Regions from separate parts of the Homo sapiens genome. Here all the other regions are linked to region 3. The links are contacts of gene promoters, found by promoter capture Hi-C in blood cells and fetal thymus (Javierre and others, 2016). All regions are on one chromosome and are shown on one strand. The core of a region is centred on a gene start or on the middle of the fragment in contact, and the rest is flanking DNA. Distances in the headings are between cores, read along the strand shown.

What was found. The method cuts DNA at HindIII sites, captures the fragments that hold promoters and counts their contacts. A CHiCAGO score of 5 or more calls a contact.
Region 1: a fragment that was not itself captured here is called in contact with the fragment with the promoter of SIT1 in region 3 in 3 of 17 cell types (M0 macrophages, M2 macrophages and M1 macrophages); the score reaches 7.1 in M0 macrophages.
Region 2: a contact is called between a fragment that was not itself captured here and the fragment with the promoter of SIT1 in region 3, in 1 of 17 cell types (naive B cells). The highest score is 5.3, in naive B cells.

What each region holds. Positions count from the first base shown.
Region 1 is chr9:35,483,022-35,486,819 of GRCh38, forward strand. It overlaps the pseudogene ATP8B5P. Among named protein-coding and RNA genes, the nearest start is that of RUSC2, 5.2 kb to the right of the region's middle. The HindIII fragment of the contact is 7,851 bases long and covers 1-3,798 here.
Region 2 is chr9:35,879,047-35,882,622 of GRCh38, forward strand. No RefSeq gene overlaps it. Among named protein-coding and RNA genes, the nearest start is that of OR13J1, 10 kb to the left of the region's middle. The HindIII fragment of the contact is 4,615 bases long and covers 1-3,576 here.
Region 3 is chr9:35,648,628-35,652,180 of GRCh38, forward strand. It overlaps SIT1 (signaling threshold regulating transmembrane adaptor 1), which reads right to left and starts at 2,304. Exons shown (of 5, transcript NM_014450.3): 1 at 2,127-2,304; 2 at 1,875-2,010; 3 at 1,730-1,788; 4 at 1,557-1,618; 5 at 668-1,454. The coding sequence starts at 2,226. The coding sequence ends at 1,221. RefSeq lists an enhancer at 1,055-1,104 and a silencer at 2,015-2,084. The HindIII fragment of the contact is 5,575 bases long and covers 1,053-3,553 here.

The DNA.
Region 1 (3,798 bases), core at 1,124-3,623, 170 kb before region 3:
TTAATGTCTAGAAATTTTTAATGGAGTTGTAAGTGACCAACCACAGGAGCCAGATTCACCCACACTGAAGTAACTCACTATAGAAGAGATATCTCCACCAATGGGGAGAGAATTTCTGAAGAACCTATAAAAGGACCTCTTGAAAACGAGTCAACTTTAGATACCTGCCAGGCCTTTTTTTTTTTTTTTTTTTTTTTTTGAGATGGAGTCTCACTCTGTCGCCCAGGCTGGAGTGCAGTAGCGCTATTTCGGTTCACTGCAACCTCTGCCTCCCAGGTTCCAACAATTCTGCCTCAGCCTCCCGAGTAGCTGGGATTACAGGTGCACACCACCACACCCGGCTAATTTTTGTATCTTTAGTAGAGACGGGTTTTTGCCATGTTAGCCAGGCTGGTCTCAAACTCCTGGTCTCAACTGATCTACCCGCCTCAGCCTCCCAAAGTGCTGGGATTACAGGCATGAGCCACCATGCCTAACTTATCTGCCAAGCCTTAAAATTAGTTTATGACTGTATTAGTCAAGTAAAGGCTTTCTTCATCTCTTCCCTCTCCTGTCCTGCTTAAGCCCCGGAGAAAAAAGAATTAGCAAGCTGAAGGAGGGAGGAGGGGTAAGTAGAAAAACAGACATCTACAAAGCCCACTGAACCTGGCCACATGCAGCAGCCCAGCTGAAAGATAAGGAAAAGCATTAATTGTAAAGGTTGAAGTTTTTAAAAATTATTTCATTAAATCACTTTAACTACTAAAGCGAAACTTAAAGTGACAAGTACTGGTTGCTACTAAAAAGGACCATTCACTAAGTACATTTTGCATCAGCACTTGTTCCTTCACCTTGTACTTTTATGTTATAGAGACGACTTCTTTCTGTAAACCTCATGAACCCACCTCTGTTGGCATCCAACTTTTCTTCTGTAACTTCTTCCCCAGCCTTCATAGAATTGAAGAGAGTTAGGGCCTTGCTCTGGATTAGGTTTTGGCTTAAGGGAATACTGTGGCTGGTTTCAGCTTCTATACAGACCACTCAAACTTTCTCTGTATCTGCAATAAGGCTGTTTTGCTTTCTTATTTGTGTGTTCACTGGAATAGCACTTTTAATTTCCTTCAATAACTTTTCCTTTGCATTCACAACTTGGCTAACTGGTATAAGAGGCCTAGCTTTCAGCCTGTCTTGGCTTTCGACATGCCTTCCTCAATAATCTTAATCGTTTCTAGCTTTTTATTTCAAGTGACAGATATGTGACTCTTCCTTTCACTTGAACACTTAGAGGCCATTTAGGGTTATTAATTGGCCTGATTTCAATATTGTTGTGTCTCAGGGAATAGGGAGGCCTGAGGAGAGGTAAAGATGGGAATGACGGGTTGGTGGAGCAGTCAGAACAGGCATTTATTAAGTTTGGCATCTTCTATAGGCGCAGTTCGTGGTGCCCCAAAGAAATGAACAAGGAACACTGTCCTAGCCCCAACATATCCCTGTGATTCCAGCTCCAAATTATCTACCAAATCTTCTAAGATTCATGAAAAGCGTTTTGGAAAAGACACATCATTTGGAGGATCCTGGGAGTCATTCAAGACTATTTGCTGTATGTTACCCCACCCACCCCCATGACACATTCAATTAATCACTAAATTCTACAGATTTCTATACCCTAAATCATCCTTGAATCTATCTCCTCTTATCTAAGCCTTCAGCCACTGCCCTAATTCAGACTCTTTCAGTTCTCATCATAATTATCAATCTCCTAACTGGTTGATTGATTACCTTCCTGTAATTCAATATCCACACTCCTACTGAAGTGAGATTTCTAAAGCTCAGATATGTTCACATCACTCCCCTGCATGAAATAATAGTGCCAACAGCCTTCAGAATAAAATCCAAACTTAGCTGGGCATGGTGGCTCATGCCTGTAATCCCAGCACTTTGGGAGGCTGAGGCGGGTAGATCACCTGAGGTCAGAAGTACAAAACCAGCCTGGCCAACATGGTGAAACTGGGCGTGGTGGCGGGCTCCTGTAATCCCAGCTACTCGGGAGGCTGAGGCAGGAGAATCACTTGAACCCAGGAGGCAGAGGTTGCAGTGAGCCGAGATCACACCACTGCATTCCACCTGGGGTGACAGAGCAAGACTCCATCTCAAGAAAATAAAATCCAAACTCCCAAACACACATACAAGGCCCTTCCTAATCTTGCTGTTGCCTCCCTCCTACACTTTGCCCATGCTTAACTAATGCCCATACTACTTGAGTTTCCCTAAGGCATCATGCTTTCTTTGTTTTTTTTTTTTTTTTTGAGACAGAGTTTCACTCTTGTTGCCCAGGCTGGAGTGCAATGGTGTGATCTCGGCTCACTGCAACCTCCACCTCCCAGGTTCAAGCAGTTCTCCTGCCTCAGAGAGGCAAGTAGCTGGGATTACAGGCATGTGCCACCATGCCTGGCTAATTTTGTATTTTTAGTAGAGGTGGGCTTTTCACCATGTTGGTCAGGCTGGTTTCGAACTCCTGACCTCAGGTGATCCACCCACCTTTGCCTCCCAAAGTTCTGGGATTACAGGCATGACCCACCGTGCCCAGCCTCTTTGTTTGTTTGTTTTTGAGATGGAGTTACGCTCTTGTTACCCAGGCTGGAGTGCAATGGTGCAATCTGAGCTCACTGCAACCTCCACCTCCCGGGTTCAAGCGATTCTCCTGCCTCAACCTCCTGAGTAGCTGGGATTACAGGCACCTGCCAGCATGCCCAACTAATTTTTGTATTTTTAGTAGAGACGGGGTTTCACCATGTTGGCCAGGCTGATCTTGAACTCCTGATCTGAGGTGATGTGCCTGCCTTGGCCTCCCAAAGTGCTGGGATTACAGGTGTGAGACACCGCACCCGGCCAGCATCATGCTTTCTTATGTCTCTGTGTTTTCGTATATTCTTTGATTTGCAAGTGTCTGGAAAACTTAAGAAATACTTTGAAATGGGTGTCTTTTTAATGGAATGTTGGGTGCTGTTAAGAATCTTTGGGAATTATTTGATTATATTAGCGGTGAGAGCCTTTGATTTCCTTTGACTAGGTTCCTATTTTACAAGTAAGCTATTTTCTAACTCGTTGGAGTTAGAAGTTAACTTCAGAATACTGACAATAAATAATACAAAAGATTTTCTGCCCATAACAGTGCAAACGATTCCTGTTCTGGGTGATGCAAATAAATTTTGTCCATTAGAGAAAAGACATTTCTAAGTCAAATCTTCATTTGAACTGGTTTTAGTATCTTACTGGTTCCCTCATTAGTTAAATAAAAAATTTGAAATATGTTCATTGTATATTTGTATAAGGCTCTGCCAGGCTCAGTGGCTCATGTCTGTAATCCCAGCACTTTAAGAGGTGGAGGCGGGTGGATTGCTTGAGCTCAGGAGTTCAAGACCAGCCTGGGTAACATGGCAAAACCCTGTCTCTACCAAAAATGCAAAAAATATCTTTAGTCCCAGCTACTCTGGAGGCTGAGGTGGGAGGATCGCTGAAGCCCGGAAGTCGAGGCTGCAGTGAGCCATGATCGCACCACTGCACTCCAGCCTGGGTAACAGAGAACCTGTCTCAAAAAATAAAAAATAAAAATACTTGCATAAGGCTCATTATTTTACCTTTTTGAAAGTTATTCTTTAACACAAACAACAGGAAGTAACCCACACTCGCTGAAGCCAAAAATGAGATTCCTATGAATGGATAGAAGGATGCATCATGATCCTGGGGAAGGAATCCTGCTGGGCCTCAGAAAGAAGTGGAACCAGCTGCTGGAAGGTCCCAAGAACCTAGGGAGCAGTC
Region 2 (3,576 bases), core at 103-2,602, 230 kb after region 3:
ACATTCTTATAGATCTGGACTGTTGGTAATAAAATCTTTCAAATTTTGTATGTCTGAAAATATTTTTATTTAACTTCAGTATTGAGAGGTATTTTGCTTAGTATAGAATTCTGACAGTTTAATTTTCCTTTTACCATTTTGAAGATATTGCGCTACTGTCTTCTGGCTTGCATTGTTTCTGACAATGACTGCTGTCATTCTTGTTTGTTCCTCTGTATATAACGTGTCTTTTTCTATGATTGCTTTTAAGATGTTCTCTTTACCGCTGATTAAAGCAATAGTATTATAATATGCCTTGGTGTAGCTGTCTTCATGTTCTTCTGCTTGGGCTTTGTTGAGATTCTTGGATCTATGATTTTGTAGCTGTCTTCTTGTTCTTCTGCTTGGGCTTTGTTGAGGTTTTTGGATCTATGATTTTGTAGGTTTTTTTAAGTGTAGAAAAATTTTGATCATTTTTTTTCTGTCCATTGCTTCTTTTCCTGAGATTCTAGTTGTACCTATATTAGGCTACTTGAAGTCCCAAAGCTCACTGATATTTTATTTATTTATATTTTTGTGTATTTTATTTTGGTTAATGTATATTGCTATGGTATCAAGTTTACTAATATTTTCTGCTGTAGGTTCTAGTCTGCTATTAATTCCATCTAATATATTTGAAATTTGTTTTAAATTTTGAAATAATCTTAGATTGGCAGAAGAGTTCTAAAGATAGGATGTAGATTTCCTGAATAACTTTCAACCAACTTCTCCTAATGTGAACATCTTATATAGCCATGAAATGTTCATCAAAACTCAGAAATTAGCAGTGACACAACTAAACATAATTGGCACTATTAACTAAACATAATTGGCACTATTAATTAAACTACAGGCTTTATTCAAATTTTCCCAGTTTTCCCACAAATATCCTTTTTCTGTTCCTGGATCCAATCCAGGATATCATGTTGCATTCATCCATTTGATTTTTTTTTAATCTCAAAAATTGTATTTTTTTATTTTTAAAAGTTTTATTTGGGTCTTTAAAAATCTTCTGTGTCTTTCTTTAATATGTGAGGCTTGCTTTTAACAATATACCATGTCTTGTGTATATATATGTAAATGTGTATGTACACATATATACATATGTGTATACATATATACACATATGTATATGCACATATATAATATATGTATACATATATATACACACATATATACATATATATACACACACACACACACACACACATACACATATATATATATACATAGAGAGAGAGAGAGAGAGAGAGATTGAGAGAGAGAGAATGGAGTTTCACTCTTGGTGCCCAGGCTGGAGTGCAGTGGCGTGATCTCGACTCACTGCAACCTCCGGCTCCCAGGTTCAAGCGATTCTCCTCAGCCTCCCAAGTAACTGGAACCACAGGCATGCACCACCACACCGAGCTAATTTTTGTATTTTTAGTAGAGACGGGGTTTCACCATGCTGGTCAGGCTGGTCTCAAACTCCTGACCTCAGGTGATCCACCTGCCTCGGCCTCCCAAAGTGCTGGGATTACAGGTGTGGGTCACCGCGCCCGACCGTAGATATTTTTATATAATTGTTTCTTTGTAAGTTATATGTAATATTCTATTGTGTGAATATATTATAGCTTATTTGAGTATTTCCTGTTGTTAGACATTTAGGTTGTATCTCATGTTTTCTTTGGCCATGCAAACAATGCTGCAAATCATATCATTTTACATGACTCTTTGGCACATGTACAGATACTTCTCTAGGATAGATATTTTGACAGGAAGTTATTGGATTGAAGGTATGTTTATTTAAATTGTTGAAAGATGCCCTAAATTGCCCTCAGAAATGTTGTCTTAATTTAAATCTCCACCAAGAATATAACAGTACCCATTTCTCCATATCCTGACTGATACTGGGTGTTATCAGTCTTTTATTTTTTATTTTTAAGTTAAAATTAAATTAAATTAAACTTTTAAAGAGATGGAATTTTGCTTTGTTGCCCAGGCTGTAGCGCAGTGGTGCAATCATAGCTCACTGTAACCTTGAACTCTTGGGCGTGAGTGATCCGCATGTCTCAGCTTCCCGAGTAAGCAGGACTACAGGAGCATGCCAGCGCACCCTGATGATTATTTTAATTTTTTTTTAGAGATGGAGTCTTGTTATTTGCCTAGGCTGGTCTTGAATGCCTGATCTCAAGTGATCCTCCCCCTTCAGCCTCCCAAAGTTCAGGGATTACAGGCTTGAGCCACCTCACCTGGCCTCAGTCTTTTAAATTTTGTATTACAATGGGTGAAAAAGGATATCTTGCTGTTTTATTTTACATTTCCCTGATCACTAAAAATGTTAATAATAATTCTATTTGTCATTTTTTGCCATTAAAATTTTTTTCTGTTGATTATCTCTTCATATTTTATGCTCATTTTTCTAATTTTGAAAATAATGATTTCTAGAAATTCTTTATATAGTCTCTATAGTATTTCTTTGTGTATTATATATGTGGCAAACATTTTATGTCAGTTACCTTTTTTATTTGTGTATGATATCTTTTGTTACATAGAAGTTTAATTATTTGGGGTAGCAAATTTCTTTTTCGTTGTCTCTTGTGTAATATCCCCAAGGTTTTAAGTACATTCGCCTTTCTGTATTTTCTTCTAATGATTTAAAAGTTTTACTTTTCAATTTAACTTTTATTTTATCTGGAATTTACTTATTGAGTGAGTGAGGTAGGATAAGTAAACTTATTTACTTGCCACAATAAAATTTATTATGGAGGTCATTCTTTTCTCATTGATTTAAAAAATGCCACCTTTCTCATATACGAATTTCTCACAAATTTATTAGTCTCTTTCTGGACCTAGTGTTATGTTCTAAAGAAATTTTATTGTCTTTCTGTCCTCATGTCACACTGTTTTAATTACTATGGCTTTATAGTGATTTGTAGCTTTATGTTGATATCTGCTAGGCGAAATCCTCTCTTACCAGCCTTTTTCAATCATTTTTTGGCTATTCTTGCACATTTTCTTTTCCAGATAAATTTTGCAATCAGCTTGTCACATTTCACAAAAATTCTCCTGGGATTTTGCTTGTAATTTATTGGCTAATTTGGGATGGAATTGACATCCCTACAAAATCAAGTTTTCTCATCCAAGAACATTGTTTTTTGTCTTTCCATCAATTCGGGTCTTTACTTTGTCATAACCATATGGCTCCTCTCCTTTTAATATGTTAATAAAGTGATTTATATTAATGTGTTTTTTTTCCTAATGTTGAATTATCTTTGTATTTCTGGGATAAACCGTTCTTCTTCCTTATGTTTTTTATTCTTGTCATGCATGGATGCTGGATTGATTTCAGGTGAGCTGATCTGCTTCAGCTCCTGGGCTCCCCCTGGTGGCCATCAGGCCCTTCTCTGTGACCTTTGGGGATGGGGTTTGAAATAGCTGTGAAATCCTGGACTCCAGGGCTCAGGCAGCAGGATCACAGATCTAGGAATCTGGTAGACATAAAATCTGCGTGCCCGAGTTATGTAACCATCTGTTTTGCCTCCTTGGGTTCTGTTAGTTTCTCTTTGCTAGGAGACC
Region 3 (3,553 bases), core at 1,054-3,553:
TGGGGTTAAGAATCAGCAGGTGATGGGTGGACAGGCAGGACAAATTAGATGGGGATTAAAATGAAAGTGGTGACAAGCAAAACTGTTGCCAAGACTGCAGGTGACAACTGAGAGAGTGAAGGCCAGGCACGGTGGCTCATGCCTGTAATCCCAGCACTTTGGGAGGCCAGAGTGGGAGAGAGTGAGTGGAGATGGACCGCTGCCATAGTGATGGGGTAAGGAGAAGGCCTCTAGGGGTATACGATGACTAAGTGCAGATAAGGCTACTGATGTCAAAACAGGGGTATAGGTGGGACTCATAGCGGACAGACGGAGGTCAGATTGGAGGACTTGATGAAGGAACCAGGCTGGCAGGTTGTGGAGGTGATGGCAGTTATAGAGGTCAAGGGGAGAGTAGCTCAGGACTGTGAGCTTGCAGCCCCAGGGGGAATGCAGTGGCTCTGAGTGCAGATCCCAGGGGTGTTCTAGCAGCAGCAACAGCAGCTGAGGAGCTGGGCTCTGGCCCTCCACCCCGGTGCCCACCTCTGCACTGTTGATGCCGCAGCCCCTCTTGGCCCCTCATCCCCAGCTAGGCACCCCCAGAAAGAGCTCCGTGCAGACAGCAAAGCTCACACCCCCATCTGCAGGGCCCTTTGCAAGTCTTCAGCCTTCTAGGTAAAAATCTAAACACTTTTTGGAAAGTTTTATTTGAAAACTTGGGGACAGGACAGAGACAGCAGGATGGAGACTGTATTCTCCTGCTAGGGTTCTTAGGTCAAAAGCCAGGCTCGGGTCCCTCCCGTCTCTAAGTTCCAGGTCCACTCCAGTCTGTGGACTCCTGAGGAATATACCCACCCACCCACTGTCAGGCCCTTACCCCTCCCCCACCGCCCACTTCCTGTGCCTGAGGAGACACTGAGGCGTGGGGGTAGACTATGAGGGAGCGGGGGTGGGGAGGATCTGGTTAAACTCCAGAAGAAGGAAGTGAGAACCTGGGAGTTTGGGGGCTAAGAGGAACAGATAGAAAAAAGAAATAAGGAGGGGGCTACTGTCTTTGCCTCCTCCATCACGAAAGCTTTGCCCTGAGATGTCTCCCTTGAAGCTCAGATAGGAAGTCCGGGGTAGATCACATCCTGTGACTTGGCAATGGCGCCCGTCTTTGGGTGCTGGTTGGGAAACAGTCATGCCCCTGCTACGGGGGGCTGGGGCAGTGCACGCCCCGCTGTGCCAGGCCCTCCATCTCAGCTGGCTGCAGGCTGGCTGTTGGCATAGGCCTGATCCGGGAAGGAGGCCCGGGCCCTGCGGGTCTGGGCACATACTGAGGCATAGAGCTCCGGCTCGGGGCCCGAGGCCTGGGACTTTGGCTCAGAGTCCAGCACCACCTCCGAGTACTTGACGGGGGTTCCAGGACCGGGGATCCGACCCTGAGGAGGCCGCAGCTGCAGGCTGGTATAGCACATCACCTCCTCTGCAGCCTGGAGATGCAAGGCTGTTAGAAGTTCACTGGACCCTCGGAAAAGCCCGAAAAGCCCCCCACTTCCTTCCCTCCCCCTTTTCTCCAGCCACAGTTGACTCACCCTGGCAGGGCCTCCAAGAGTTGGATCCTGCTGGTCTGGCTCTGGGTCTTGAGACAGCCGTCCTGGGACGGGGAACAGGAATCTGGTCAGCAACTTGTCCTTCCTCCTGCACGCCCCCATCCCAGCCACCCAGGACCTGGCCTCTGTGCCCCTCCTCTCTGCCAGCTCCCTACCTGTCTGTAGATAATGCAGGTTCCCATACAGCGGGACCTCTTCCACAGACTCTCCAGAGCTGCAACGCAGAGTTTAGGGGATGAGTGGGGACTTCTCGGTAAGAGAGAACTCTCAGTCAACCCATCCCTGTTGTCCTTCACCCACCGTCCCTGCCCCGGATGGCTCCTGCTCCGGCCCCTGGTCCACTGGGACAAGTGTGCAGCCAGCGAGATGAGAAATAGCAGCGTCACAGCCCCTAAGAGGACCCACAGTCCCCAGGCCTGGGTTATGGAGGGGATTCCTGTGGATGTGAAAGGAAGGGGGGTGTAACAGCCCCGCCCCACCCCCAGGGCCCAGCAGGTGGGACCTGGGGCCACATGACCCCTCCCCCACCAGCCCCTGCCCTGCCCAGCTCACCCAGTGCGAGTAGATCCGTGCAGTTGTCGCCTCTGCTCATGGCTGCAGATGTGAGAGTCCACAAGCACACTGCTCTGAGCCGAGGGTCAGCCTGGTTCATGGCCTGACGGTTTCCACAGCACTTCTTACTCCCATCCCTCCTCAGGCCCGTACCCCGCAGCTCAGCATCCCCAATACTGGTGGTGGCAAAGTCTCTGGTTTCCGGGGAGGAAGGGGGAGGGGAGGGATGAAAAAAAGAACAAAGACCCCGCCCTGTGCCTGCACCTGCGCCACTCCTGCAGCTCCTGAGCTTCCCCCACCCTCGCTGCCCAGGCCCTTTGCCCCCCTTGAGAAGAGAAGCAGGCCTGTGGGTAATGTGCCACGGGCAGTTGAGTCCCTGAGGACTCTGAGGGCGGGGGGTGGGGGCAGAAGTGGTGTGAAGCAGGACTAACAAGGACAGGAACACCCCTTCTGCTCCAGGATGCCCACCTTCCTCCCTGACTCTGGTCCCAGAAGAAAGATGTATTCCTCAATGAGTATGGTATAAAGTGGAAGGGTCGGGGGAGCCTCCTGGTACCTCTGATCCCATCACACCCTAAGGCTGATCTGAGAGGATATGTGTTTAGATGATGCTTGTTATTGTTTCATTGGGGGCATTATAATTTGGGGGACACCCCCAAACCTCCCCTTTCAACCCACTTCATCCAAACTGTCTGTAAGAACTGTCACTCTCAATAATTAATTGCATTTTAAAACTCTTTGCTGTAGGACTGTCCTGGGAAACTGAGCCCTATCTTGCACATGTTCACTTCAGCGGGTGTAGTACCTGCCATACCTAGAGCTAACTCCATCACGTGCAAGGCTATTGATGTAGGAAGAGGGATTTTAAGTTGCAAATATAAACCTGAGACCAGAAGTCAGAGATGTGTTTTGTCTAGCCCATACAACATTTTTTAAAAGTTTAAAATCAGTGCAGTGGCATGCCAACAATAGGGATGGCAGAAGTCCTGCCCCTTGAGTTGCAGGCAATAAGGGGGTGCATTGTCTGTAGAGAATTTAAAAAATAAAAATCAGTCCTCTTATTATCACCATGTTCCAGAAATTCTGAAAAAAAAAATCAGTGATAAAATTATCCTCCCTGAAAAATATTTTATGGATCTAAGTTTTATATTTTTTTTGAGACAGGGTCTTACTTTGTCTCCCAGGTTGGAGTGCAGTAACACAATCTCAGCTCACTGCAGCCTTGACGATCTCCCGGGCTCAAGTGATCCTCCCATCTCAGCCACCTAAGCAGCTAGGACTACAGGCATGTGCCACCACACCCAGCTAATCTAGTTCATTTTTTGTAGAGATAGGTCTCCCTGTGTTGCCAGGCTGGTCTCAACTCCTGACCTCAAGCAACCTGCCCACCTCGGTCTCCCAAAGTGCTGGAATTACAGGCATGAGCC